Linked DNA regions of Homo sapiens: regions 1 and 2 are each linked to region 3. The links are contacts of gene promoters, found by promoter capture Hi-C in blood cells and fetal thymus (Javierre and others, 2016). All regions are on one chromosome and are shown on one strand. The core of a region is centred on a gene start or on the middle of the fragment in contact, and the rest is flanking DNA. Distances in the headings are between cores, read along the strand shown.

The links. Contacts are between HindIII fragments. The CHiCAGO score rates a contact against its expected background, and 5 or more counts as called.
Region 1: a contact is called between the fragment with the promoter of BCL2A1 here and a fragment that was not itself captured in region 3, in 1 of 17 cell types (monocytes). The highest score is 6.7, in monocytes.
Region 2: a contact is called between the fragment with the promoter of C15orf40 here and a fragment that was not itself captured in region 3, in 4 of 17 cell types (naive CD8 T cells, activated CD4 T cells, M0 macrophages and 1 more). The highest score is 10.8, in naive CD8 T cells.

The regions. Positions count from the first base shown.
Region 1 is chr15:79,969,749-79,974,048 of GRCh38, forward strand. BCL2A1 (BCL2 related protein A1) reads right to left here and starts at 1,448. Exons shown (of 2, transcript NM_004049.4): 1 at 952-1,448. The coding sequence starts at 1,371. RefSeq lists an enhancer at 872-2,071. The HindIII fragment of the contact is 17,831 bases long and covers 1-4,300 here.
Region 2 is chr15:83,009,216-83,014,082 of GRCh38, forward strand. It overlaps C15orf40 (chromosome 15 open reading frame 40), which reads right to left and starts at 2,424. Exons shown (of 4, transcript NM_144597.3): 1 at 2,282-2,424; 2 at 1,022-1,148. The coding sequence starts at 2,392. It overlaps LOC124903542 (a long non-coding RNA gene), which reads left to right and starts at 2,526. Exons shown (of 2, transcript XR_007064742.1): 1 at 2,526-3,844. RefSeq lists an enhancer at 2,602-2,661. The HindIII fragment of the contact is 2,628 bases long and covers 1,289-3,916 here.
Region 3 is chr15:81,305,109-81,309,436 of GRCh38, forward strand. It overlaps IL16 (interleukin 16), which reads left to right. Exons shown (of 19, transcript NM_172217.5): 17 at 800-1,058; 18 at 1,312-1,437; 19 at 3,497-4,328. The coding sequence ends at 3,690. It overlaps STARD5 (StAR related lipid transfer domain containing 5), which reads right to left. Exons shown (of 6, transcript NM_181900.3): 6 at 3,945-4,328. Among named protein-coding and RNA genes, the nearest start is that of STARD5, 17 kb to the right of the region's middle. RefSeq lists a silencer at 3,446-3,623. The HindIII fragment of the contact is 7,388 bases long and covers 1-4,328 here.

The DNA of each region.
Region 1 (4,300 bases), core at 198-2,697, 1.3 Mb before region 3:
TTTTTACAAAAAATGTTTTACAAAGAAGTATTGTTTATTTTCTATGGATAGATTCAGTAGGCATGTTTTGCATGCAAAATAATTGATAACAGTGGTTACCTCTTGGGAGAGGTGAAGGCCGTTGGAGAGAGGATCAATGAACACTTAAGTGCTTTAAAAAAATAATTATTAAGTATATTGGAATATAAAGGAAACCATATACATCCAGCTGTGTCAGGCTTTTTACCAACATGAGTTTCAACACAGGCCTCTACATAGTCTTGGCTTTTTTAGGCACTGATAATAAAGTAAATTTTTATTTGAAAATTCTTGAATAAAGGTTCTTGCTGGTCATACAGTATATTATGTTTTAATCAACAAACTTTAACAGCCCGGAATTTATTATTAGTAATAATGTGTTATATATTATATGTAATGTAATTTGCTATATATTAATATATGTTACTATTTATTATGTATTAGTAAACTGAAAAACACCAATTTGTAAGCGATGAACTTACAAAAATTTACACCTGTCTTTTGCAACCCATAAATACCTAAAAATAACAGCATCTGATAGCAACTTTCTGTGCTGATTGTAGAAATTTCTGTACTGTCTGTACTGTCATGACAACCCTAGCAAAAGCTAAGTACTAGATTAGAGTGTGTGCACAGCTGATTGTGAAGCTGCATGAGAGAGGTGCTTTATTAATCCCCAAAGCTCACTACTGTAATTTATACTGTTAAGAATAAAAACTGAAAACATAAGTGCTTTCCAACTATAAAGTTCAAGTTCAAGGATTCATTGGAAATAAGCCAGAAAGTATATTTTTATTTTAAAAATTAAAACAAACCACCCAAGGAAAATAGTATTCTTAGGTAAAGTGTTTTGTTGTTGTTTTAACTAGCAAGGAAATTCTCAATTTCTATTTCACAGGAAAGAACAATGAAGAATTTTTCCATCACACATACCCAGCCTCCGTTTTGCCTTATCCATTCTCCTGTGTTATTCATTATGAACTCCGCAACAAAATATGAAATCTCCTTATAGGTATCCACATCCGGGGCAATTTGCTGTCGTAGAAGTTTCTTGATGAGAATACCTTCAAATGCAAATATGGTTACAATTCTTCCCCAGTTAATGATGCCGTCTTCAAACTCCTTTTCCATCACTTGGTTGAATAGTGTTCTGGCAGTGTCTACGGACACAACATTAACATTGTCCAAGCATGACTTCAGATTCTTTTCCACTTCTTTTTGGACTGAGAACGCAACATTTTGTAGCACTCTGGACGTTTTGCTTGGACCTGATCCAGGTTGTGGTATCTGTAGGACGCACTGCAGATAGTCCTGAGCCAGCCTGTAAATATATCCAAATTCACAGTCTGTCATCTTCTGCCTGGTGGAGAGCAAAGTCTTGAGCTGGCTCACCTTGAAGCTGTTGAGGCAATGTGCTGAGAATGCTCACTGAGCTTGACTGAGTTATGACACATGATGATACATGGAGGCTGGTGGAATTTCTGTTTGCATCACTTTATAATATCCTTCCTCCTAGTCACTTTCGTGCGTAGGCTGTGTTTCATGTCATGTATGAAAGAGAAAGTTTAAAATGTGAAAGAGGAAAATGTTTCAGAGAAGCCACTTCCTCATCCTGTGATTAATTCAGCTTTGCAAGTCTTAAATGCAGGATGTGGAGAAATTAGAATCCTTGTAGATTGCTGGTGGGAATGTGAAATGGTACAACCCCTGTGAAAATGTTGGCAGTTTCTCAAAAAGTTAAATACAGAATTGTCAAAAGACCCAGCAATTCCATTCATAGGTATACACCCAACAGATACTCAAATACTTACATACGAATGTACATGGCAGCACTATTCACAATAGCCAAGATGTGGACACAACTCAAATGTTCATCAACAGACGAAAGGATAAATAAATTATGGAACATTATTCATCCCAAAAAAGGAATGAAGAACTGATACATGCTTCAACAGGAATGAACCTCAAAAACATTAGGCTAATAGAAAGAAGCCAAACAGAAAAGGTCATACATTATGTGATTCTATTTCTATGAAATATCCAGACAGTTAAATCCATAGGATAGAAAGCAAATTGGTGGTTGACAGGGGCTGAGAAGAGGAAGGAGTAACTGCTTAATGGGTAGAAGGTTTTCTTTTGTGTGATGAAAATGTTTTACAAGGCCGGCCGCGTTGGCTCACGCCTGTAATCCTAGCACTTTGGGAGGACAAGGCGGGCGGATTGCCTGAGCTCAGGAGTTTGAGACCAGCCTGGGCAATATGGTAAATCCCCGTCTGTACTAAAATACAAAAAATTAGCCAGGCGGGTGGCGTGTGCCTGTAATCCCAGCTACTCGGGAGGCTGAGGCAGGAGAATTGCTTGAACCCGGGAGACAGAAGTTGCAGTGAGCCAAGATCACGCCACTGCACTCCAGTCTGGGCAACAGAGCGAGACTCTGTCTCCAAAAAAAAAAAGAAAAGAAAATGTTTTGCAGCTAGATAGAGGTGGAAGTTGCACAACACTGCGAAGGTACTAAATGCCACTGAATTGTTCACTTTAAAATGGTTCTGTGAATTTCAAATTTAAGAAAAGTCTTAAACGCCATCCACGGGGTAAACCGGAGTAACGACAATTTGGAATGGAGACTACAAAACAGCCTGGGTGGCAGAGAACAGGGCCTCTCGAGGTGACTCTGGCAGTACCGCCCTTGATCATTTGTAATTGAGTAAGGATGATACCGAGAGGGAAGAAAAAAATACCCTCTTTGGGCCAGGCACGGTGGCTCACCCCTGTAATCCCAGCACTTTGGGAGGCTGAGGCGAGCGGATCACGAGATCAGAAGATCGAGACCATCCTGGCTAACACAGTGAAACCCCATCTCTACCAAAAATACAAAAAATTAGCCAGGCATGGTGGCGGGCACCTGTAGTCCCAGCTACTTGGGAGGCTGAGGCAGGAGAATCCTTTGAACCCAGGAGGCGGAGCTTGCAGTGAGCTGAGATTGTGCCACTGCACTCCAGCCTGGGCGACAGAGCGAGACTCCATCTCAAAAAAAAAAAAAAGAAAAAGAAAAAGAAAATACCTTCTTTGGTCTTCACCTTCCACCTACTCTAGAATTTCTGATAGAAAACAAAATTCTGCTTTAAGCCTGACTTAATTCACATTTTTAACTCAGGTAAACTATCCGATGTGTGGATTAGAAATTGCAGGACCAGAAAGAGCACTGGACTTACAGTCAGAGGGCCTGGACTCAGTCCCAGCCAAATCTCTCTTTCTTTACTCAGTATGTACCTTGGGTCTGTGCTTAATTTGTAAAATGAGGCAATACATGTTGACCTCAGAGGGTTGAGGTGAAGTTCAAAGAGATGACCTATGTAAAGCCTCTATCACCATGCCTGGTAAAACGTACGTGCCTAATCAAAGCTAGTTCCTCATTGTTCTTTTGTGGACTAATGAGGAATTTGGCCTCCCAATCATCTCTTTACCTATCAAGGATATAACTTCATAGGTGAAATGCAAATCTCATTTGATTTAGCTATGGCAGCAATCCTGAGAAAAGGTTTGCAGTGGATGGAAGAAAAAGGAGATAACTCATGGTCGCTGGAGAAATTGAATTCACTTTTTTTTTCCATCCACATATGGAGTGACTTTGAGTCTTTTATCCTGTCTATGACCAGCTGCAAATAGGAAAAATGATTCATATATAACCTGCATTTCTGAACTATCACCATAGGGTTAAGGAGGAAAGGAGAGGTGCTGCTTAGAATGCTCGTTAATAGCGTGGCAGCCATGAAAATGCATCTTTCAGACCTACTGTGGTGGTTTAATTGACTAAGGGCCCCAGCCGCAGTGCTTTGAATCTACCACAGCTTTGCACTGAGGCCACACATCCTACAGGCTGTTCCCAGCCAATGACTGAGCAAAGCAGGAACCTTAAGATCGGTTCCTGCAAGTCAACTTCCTTTGATAGGTAACTTTGCTTCAATGACTCCCCATGGGCTTTGCTGAAACTTCCTTCGACTGCACAGTCATGGAAGACTTCCTACCCCATCTTCCTCCTTCTGTCCTTTGCAGAGGTCAGTCCTGCATTGTAGTCTGACAGCTCTGTAGTCTCTTCTGCCTCCCTCCCTCTTTTCCCTCACAGGCATTTACCCCAGTAAATCTGTTAGACGTCTAATCCCCTCATGACATTTTCTTGGAGTATCCAGACTGATATAGGACCTGTAGAGCACAAAGGAGCATACAGATATGTTGTCAAGCCACTTCTCCAGGAATTCCCCTGGGAAAGTTCTCCCGTGCCTCC
Region 2 (4,867 bases), core at 1,174-3,673, 1.7 Mb after region 3:
TTTAAGCACACACAAATGTGTTAAAGGCTTTACAAATACTAACTTCTTTAATCCTTATAATAACTTTATGAAGATATTAGTACCATTATTATCTCCATTTTACAAATGAGCCATGGCATCCAGCCTCCCATTTTAGATCTAATGAAACATAATACTCCAACGTAGACAGTGTCCACACCCACTACTTAGAAAATGCTGGCCAAGGAGGGTATGGCTAAGTTAACTTGGTCATCAGCATAAACCAGGTCTAGCACGTCAATGTTGTGGTTTTCCTTTCAAAATCTAAAAATGGTTTGAAATACAGAGCTTTAGAGGTGAAAAAGACCTTCAAAAGAATTTAGAGCAATGGTTTTTGAACTTTTTTTCCTTTAGAATCCCTTCCCCCAATTTTCTCCAGAATCCCAATATGTAAAACAAATGTAAACAGAGCTAGTCAGGAGCCCTGTCTGCCTGGCCTCCTCCTTGCCCAAAGCTGATTCCTGAGGCACCTCCAGCACTCCAGAGAATAGCCTGAAAGCCTCTAACTTAGTCCAACGATCTCATCTGACAGATGAAAAAACTGGACCCATGAATGTTTTATACTGTTTTGATTTAAAACAAATTCGCACAGGAACTGATCACGGGTCTCAGATCTCAAGTTTTCTCCCTCTCCTTAGGCCAGTGATCATTAAACTACACTAAAATGTCTCTTCTTTCTCTGGCCAATGTCTCCAGTTTTGGAACAGGACAAACTAAGAATAATCCAGACTACACACAAGTTTCCATAACTGTCCTTTCTAAAATACTGTATTTTTAAAGAGGAAAATATACAATGGTTTTCGTGTAACTTGGCATGATTTAAAGATATATTCACTTTAAGACACCTTTACATTAGAATCTAGAATTTTAAAATGGAGAAGCCTCTAACTGCAGATGTGAAAAATCAACTGTCATAGAATAAGCTTTCAGCTAACCAAAGCAAAGGAGGGCTGTAGGAGACACCTGATTCACACTTGAATCCCACCCCAGTGTCCAGGTATACCTGTTACAGCATTTTGTTTGGAGCCAGGTTTTGCATGGATGGCTATGGTGACGCATCCTTTAGGATCAACTGCCACAGGACCTAAGGGAGGAAGTGGTCTCTCTGGTTCCTTGCTCTGGCTTTTACCCTAAAATGACAACCACACAACTTTACAGGTTACAAAATATTTTCCCACACATTTAATTTGATTCTTCCACTACCCCCTTTCACCCTTAACAGACAAACTAGGCTCATCAGTGGTGTCCAGGGACTTCTGGCCACCTAGAAAGCTTTTCCCACAACCTTCAAGGCTCTACTCAATTTTCCCACGAAGGGTTCCCATCAACCCAACAGTGTTTTTTCCCCCCTTGCAAGAAAACCTAACTCTGGCTTCTAAACCTTAATGCTTGCTCCTCCCTCTGCTTTGTATTTCCAATTCCTTGGGGGCAGGGATCATTTATTATTCATCATTGTATCTCATGCAGTCGGAGCTAATAAATGTTGGTGAAAGTGTGTATGTCTGCATGTTGCGGGAAAGGGAGGAAAAAAAAATAGTGCTTGATATTTAAAGGCCTGTTATGGGACAGGGGCTGTGCTAGGAACTTTCGTTCAACAAATATGTAGGCAATGGATATGTAAAGATGAAAAGGTACATGGTCCTTGCTCTCAAGGAGCTCGGACTGCTGCGAGGGAGAAAGAACATACAAAATTATAATACACTGTGCTAAGTGCACCGATGAGATAGGCACAGAACATTACCCCACAGGCAAATCAGCATTGGGGCACTGGAGAATGCTGCCAGCAGGAGGCAGTGCTTGAGCTGAGTCTGAGAAACGGACTGGGGTTGGCCAAACAAAGATGGTGGAAATGGGAGTGCTGTATTCTTGACAGAAGGGGTGCGATCAGCCAAAGCAAGGGAGGAGAAAGCAGAATACAGCCTCCTGGGGAAACGCAGGTCATGCCGCTGCGGGAACATGAATTGCTGGACTGGGAGTGCGGGTAGGAGGCCAAAGGTCAGCACACGCAGCCCAAGGAGAGCTCGGCTGCCGCCGGGCCCAGCGCTCAGAAATCACCAGGTGGACGGCAGCGCAGCCTACTGAGGCGGGGCGACGGCAGCAGGCCGCAGCTCTGGGGGTGGCGGCGGCTGTCCTGAGCCCCGGAACTGAGAGACGGCAAGCCGCTGGCAGTGCCTCCACTCACTCCCGGGCCCCGCTTCTCCCGCGCTCTTCAACAAGTACCCCTGAGGCCCACCCCTCTGCCGCCACGGGACCTGCTACTGGCCTTGGTCGTCGCACCAGCCTTCTTAGGCATCTCGGCGCAAAGAAGCCGAGCGGAGCCCCGAGTATTGGGTGTTGCCCGAAGGTGCCTCAGCCCGCTGCGGAGCCGCAGCATCCCCGCCTGGGAAGGCGCCGGAAGAGCCCTCTGCGCTTGCGCAGGTAGCCGGCAGGAGCGGCCCCACCGCCCGGCGCATCCGCTCTGGCCAGAGGGCGACACCTTAAGGCCGGCGGGAGCGAGTCTCGTGGCCGCAGAACATGCGCGAGTCTCTTTTGTTCTGGAACGGGCCGAGCCCCAGGAAGTGGAGCTGCGGAGCTGAGGCCTCACCGTGTCTTGGCCCACCCTGCTCAGCTGATAGGAAGGTGTGTCACCTCTTTCCTAATCGGGGAAAGAAAGGTATTGTCACTTCTCAGAATTGGAGAGCGCGGCAAGGAGTGCACAGGGCCAGGTGTCTTCTCGCTCCCACAGCCAAGCAGCAGATGCAGAGTCCCACGCGCTGCCTGTGGCCATCAAGTCGATATAGAGCCTCGTGGCGGCTTGGCCCTTGTGAATCTTCCACGTATCGATGGCGCACCTACCTTGTGCCAGGCGCAGCGGATCCCACAATGTAAAAGAAGAGGAAATACACTGCGACATGTGATATGGAGAGACATGAAACAAATCAGCAGAGGCAAGATCATGGAGTCACTGAAGGCTTTCAAGCAAGGGATTATTAGCAGCCCAATTTGCTGGGTTTTAGAAAGACACCGGCTGCACTGTGGCCGACAGAGGAAAAGCCAGAGACAGGGAGATCCGCCCCCTAAATGGGAGAGGGTGGCCTGAACTAGAGTAACCGCAGGGAGGGTGGAGCGCTGATCATTTCAAGGATCTTCAGGAACTGAAATGATCAGAACTTGGGAATGACTGCATGTGCGAATAAGGGGGAAAAGTCAAGGAAATGCCCAGGTTTGGGGCCCAAGGAACAGGTTTGGGAGGCCGAGGTGAGGAGTTCAGCTTTGGACATAATGAGTTTGAGATGCCCACAGGACATCCAAATACAAATGTTAAAGGGGTAACTGAATATATGTGACTGGAGTTTGCGAAATCAAGGCTGGTGATAGAGATTCTGGAATCTTCTGAAAGCAGATGGCAATTGAAGCTATGGAAATGGATGAGAGAGTGTGTAAAGAGCACGAGGGCCCAGGTTAGAACAGCAAGGGCAGGTAGAGAAGTCACCAAAGGACACTGACCAGGTAGGAGTACGGTGTAACGGCAGCTAAAGAAGGGCGCTTCAAGAGGGAACATCAACAGTGATGAACACTCTGGAGAGAACATGTCACATGTAACGACTGAGAAGTGGCCACAAGATTTAGAAATCAGGGTGGTGGTGGTGACCCGGGCTACAGCAGTTTTAGTGGAGAGAAGGAAATGGAGATAATTGTAGAGAATAATCCAGTGACTTCACTGTGAAGGAGCAATTGGTATCTGGAGGGGCACATGACATTCAGAGACTTATTTTTATCATATTTGAAGATTGGTAGGAAAGAGCCAGGAGAAGAGAGGTTACAGCAGAGGACGGTTCCTGAAGAGGTAGGATCTGAGCTCAAGTAGAGATTGAGTTCTCTACAGGAGGCCTTAGACACTCCTTCCTTCCTAAGGGAAAGCTTAGGTGGACATGTAGCTGTGTTTGTAGGTTTGGTGATGGGAGGTGGAATTTCTTTCATTAACTAAGGCGGGGGAGGTGTTGAAGGTATATTGGGACTCTTGAGAATGGCAAAGGGCTGACTATTGCAACTCACCCAGCGGTAGACAGTTAAGGGAGACCGTGAAATCATCTATGATCCCAATCTATAGTTACCTTATTTTATTTTTGTTTATTTTTGAGACAGGGGGATGGGAAGAGCCTGTCGCCCAGGCTGGAGTGCAGTGGCGGGATCTCGGCTCACTGCAACCTCCGCCTCCTAGGTTCAAGCAATTCTCCCTGCCTCAGCCTCCAGAGTAGCTGGGACTACAGGCGCGCGCCACCACACCCATTTTTTGTATTTTTAGTAGAGACGGGCGTTTCGCCATTTCGCCCAGGCTGGTCTCGAACTCCTGAGCTCAGGCAATCCACCCACTTCGGCCTCCCAAAGTGCTAGGATTACAGGCGTGAGCTAGCGCCTGGCCTATAGTTACGTTACTTTAGATGCCTGGATTCACCAGCTAAGAAGTTTTTTTTTTAATTAAATTTTTTTTTGGCCCCAGTGCTACTACCAAAGCAGTCAGGAAGTTGAAGATAAGGCAGACAACTGGATTGATTCAGGTATATTTAAGTGGGTTGAGGGTTATTGATGAAATGGTTAAAGTTATTAAAGACCAAAGGTGGAGAGGGGTTGAGGGAGACCAAAAGTAGAGTCTAACTGGGTAAAGAAGGAAGTAAAGAAGAAAAGAACAGAGAGGACAAGGGGCTGCAGTCTTAGGTTCAATAACGGGTGTAACTGGAATGTGAGTGAGAGCTGGAAGAAACACCAAAGGTTGTGGCCAGAGAGTGGGATGTCTGAATTTCCTATTTCAGATGTAGAGCAATTCCACATCATGATAGGGTATATGGTGTGGCCATGATAAGGAATGGTG
Region 3 (4,328 bases), core at 1,829-4,328:
TTCTGCCAAATGAGACCGAGAATTTCTCTATGAGAAAAGAATTCTTTGTTGAAACACTTTGGGAATCCCCATAATACCCTGCCAATACTTAGAAATCTGCCATGCAGATTTGCATTGTAGACCCTCTAAATGCCTTTTGCTTAGAAATCTGCTGCCATGCAAATTTGCATTGTAGACCCTCTAATGCCTTTTGCTTTTTAAAAGTAGACAATGTCAGAGCTTTTGTTTCACCCAGTATTCCTCAAGTTTCTTTGATTTTAAAAAATTTTTCTTGGCCGGGTGTGGTGGCTCATACCTGTAATTCCAACACTGTGCGGGGCCAAGGTGAGAGGATTGCTTGAGCCCAGGAGTTTGAGACCATCCTGGGCAACACTGGGAGACCCTGTCTCTATTTTTTAAAAAATAATAGGAAAAGCCTTTTTCTTACACAATACCCGTTAATATGCCATAGAATCAGTGCCTTGAGAAAACTACTCTGGGGACTTCTGACCTAGGGCAGGTGAAGCAAAAGATTTTATATGGAATCCCAACTAGAATCGTGGTGGTACACTATAGGACGTTGTGTTGGGATGGATTCTGAGGGCTTACCTGGTCATTACTGCTGGTGATCTCTGCTCTGGATGGAGAAGGAGGGAATGCTGGCCTCTGTGCCAGCAGCTCCAATCTAGGACACAATTATCTTTAATCTTTGTTGGCCTAAAAATCCTCTAGCATTGACTAACCGGTTCAATCCTCCTCCAGCAAGTATGTGGACTGGACTTGTGTGATTTCTGGTCCTGACTTCCTTTGGTTTGCTCAGGTTCACAGAGTGTTTCCAAATGGGCTGGCCTCCCAGGAAGGGACTATTCAGAAGGGCAATGAGGTTCTTTCCATCAACGGCAAGTCTCTCAAGGGGACCACGCACCATGATGCCTTGGCCATCCTCCGCCAAGCTCGAGAGCCCAGGCAAGCTGTGATTGTCACAAGGAAGCTGACTCCAGAGGCCATGCCCGACCTCAACTCCTCCACTGACTCTGCAGCCTCAGCCTCTGCAGCCAGTGATGTTTCTGTAGAATCTAGTAAGTTCTCCCAACTCAGTGGAAGCCACATGGGCCACATCCTCTTTGGCCATTTGGGGCCAGACCTGATGGGGCTACTCAGTAATTTGTGACCCCAAGAATGTGTGGCTGCCTAGTACACTGCCTGAGACGTGTTTACATGTGCCTGTGTGCAAACACGGGGGCTGTATCACCCCGGGCTCACTTGAAGCCCAGGGCATCTGTGGCCTGGGAGAGGAGAGGATCCCTAACAGAGACCTTGTGTTTTTCTCAGCAGCAGAGGCCACAGTCTGCACGGTGACACTGGAGAAGATGTCGGCAGGGCTGGGCTTCAGCCTGGAAGGAGGGAAGGGCTCCCTACACGGAGACAAGCCTCTCACCATTAACAGGATTTTCAAAGGTGTGGGGTGTGTCTGGTTCTTTGCGTGCTCTCCAGTTGTGGGCATGTGGCCAGGCCCCCAAAAGGCTTCTGGGCACTTTCTGGGCTATGTTGTTTCCCACAACTCCATGTCCTCTTCATAGGCATGCTGGTCCTTTTAGGGCTCAATTCTGCTTTTTCTACTTTTTCTCCTTTGCTCAGACATCCCCTCAATCCCCCCTCTGTTTTGATGGGTCTTCAAAAATACCTAAGTCCTGGGCTTGGTTCGGGTTGGCAGGGCCAGGACTCTAGAGTGGGGCAGTGAGGCACTGGCCTGTGGGGCAGAATTTTAAAGGGGTGCCAAAACACTCAGTAACTCAGATCGATACTATTTTAATGCAGCGTGTTTTTTAAAATTAATTTTAAAAAAACATGTTGGACAAAATATCCAAGTTTAAATCAAGACAGAGTCTGACTTTGTACTGCACACTTGGCCTCATTTGCCTTACCCTAGTCCTGGACACGTCAGCTCCTGCCTTTATTTAAAATGTTGATAGATATTTTGTTCATCAGGGATTGGAGTACAAACCAGTCTGATATGGGGGTCACTTGGATTTCCCTGTGAAAATCATGAATGACTGTGGCTACCATGTAAAACCATCCCTGATTCTTTGGTGTTCCTCAAATTGGAGGTCTCCAAGCCACAGAGCAAGGGGTTGTAGAGAGAGGAGTACTGGACAGGGAGGCAGGTGGGCCAGGTTCTAGTCCCAGCTCTGCCTGTAATGTGCTGAGTGACCCTTCCCTTCTGGGCCTGAGGCTCTTCATCCATAAAAGGAGGTAAAGAGGTACAGGTGTGTGTCTGAGGGCTCTTAGGACTGAGACCCAAAGGGACTCTTAGCTCTGTCCCTCACCCACTATGAGCTCCTGCTGCTGACTGGTTTCGTTAGAGGAAGTTCTGCTGCGGCTGCAGAAACCCAGAAGGTAGAGTGAGGCTTACATGGCATTCCCCCCAGAATCCATGTTAACCCCAATTCTGGGAAAGATATTTCTAATTTTTGAAGGTCAATTTGGAAGGAGCATTGGGTTCAATGTCAAGAGGACTAGATTCCAGTGTTAGTTCTGCCACATGACCTTGGTAGCATGATCTTGGACAAGTCACTTCACCACCATGGGCCCATTTGCTTAAATGTTTAGGATGAGACTGCCAGCTGCAGGGTGATGTTGGAAGGAGAGATGCAGATTCTGGAGCCAGAAAGTCTGGGTTCCAGCCCAGGGCCCACCACTAGCAGCTATGAAGCTCTGGGCCAGTTACTTGAGTTCTTGGTTTCCTCAGCTGTTAAAAGGAAACACAAATAATACACCCCTCATAGGATTACTGTCATAAATGCAAAACATTAGCACAACGCCTGTTAAAATAATTGCCCAATACACTTTAGCTATATTTTCATTACTATCATTAGTATTATCTTCTACTCTTATCAGGATTTGTGAAGATCACTGTGTCAAATGGATGGGAAATTTTATTTTAATATAAACAGTAAAATAGCATTGTTTTCACTTGCAGCTTTGAAATAGTGGGGGCCATATATGGTTGTTTCCTTTTTTATGTGGACACAGAGGACTTCGTGCCAGAGGCAAGATCCCTGTAAATATTGTTGCACAAAAATCTCACTAGCTCTCTTCCCATACCACCCAATGCTGATGTCCTCACCACATGCGGAGAACAAATGTGAAGGGAGTAGGATATTGGGTCAGTGTCCAAAGCAGGGTCTGGGCAGGACTCAGCTCCCCAGAGTCCTCTATGAACTATGGACGGTGCTCCAGGCAGGCTAAGGCGTGGAGCTGCCTGATATTTCCCTCCCCTGGGGACAGCAAGGGCTATCCCTTTCCAAAGGCCATGGAGAGCTGGAGCCTGGTGCCCTAACCTCTGAGTCACCATCTTAAGAGATGCCTCATTTTAGAACCACCAACAAGCAAGCTCCCAAGGGATGGTGCCCTGTTCTCTACCAAGCTATCCTGGCTCTTTGGAGATCAAGGAGAGGAGGCAACTTTCCTTGTTCCCCATCATCTGTGGAACCCATTACCTTCTCCCTCATTTCAGGAGCAGCCTCAGAACAAAGTGAGACAGTCCAGCCTGGAGATGAAATCTTACAGCTGGGTGGCACTGCCATGCAGGGCCTCACACGGTTTGAAGCCTGGAACATCATCAAGGCACTGCCTGATGGACCTGTCACGATTGTCATCAGGAGAAAAAGCCTCCAGTCCAAGGAAACCACAGCTGCTGGAGACTCCTAGGCAGGACATGCTGAAGCCAAAGCCAATAACACACAGCTAACACACAGCTCCCATAACCGCTGATTCTCAGGGTCTCTGCTGCCGCCCCACCCAGATGGGGGAAAGCACAGGTGGGCTTCCCAGTGGCTGCTGCCCAGGCCCAGACCTTCTAGGACGCCACCCAGCAAAAGGTTGTTCCTAAAATAAGGGCAGAGTCACACGGGGGCAGCTGATACAAATTGCAGACTGTGTAAAAAGAGAGCTTAATGATAATATTGTGGTGCCACAAATAAAATGGATTTATTAGAATTTCATATGACATTCATGCCTGGCTTCGCAAAATGTTTCAAGTACTGTAACTGTGTCATGATTCACCCCCAAACAGTGACATTTATTTTTCTCATGAATCTGCAATGTGGGCAGAGATTGGAATGGGCAGCTCATCTCTGTCCCACTTGGCATCAGCTGGCGTCATGCAAAGTCATGCAAAGGCTGGGACCACGTGAGATCATTCACTCATACATCTGGCCGTTGATGTTGGCTGGGAACTCACCTGGGGCTGCTGGCCTGAATGCTTATAGGTGGCCTCTCCTTGTGGCCTGGGCCTCCTCACAACATGGTGTCTGGATTCCCAGGATGAGCATCCCAGGATCGCAAGA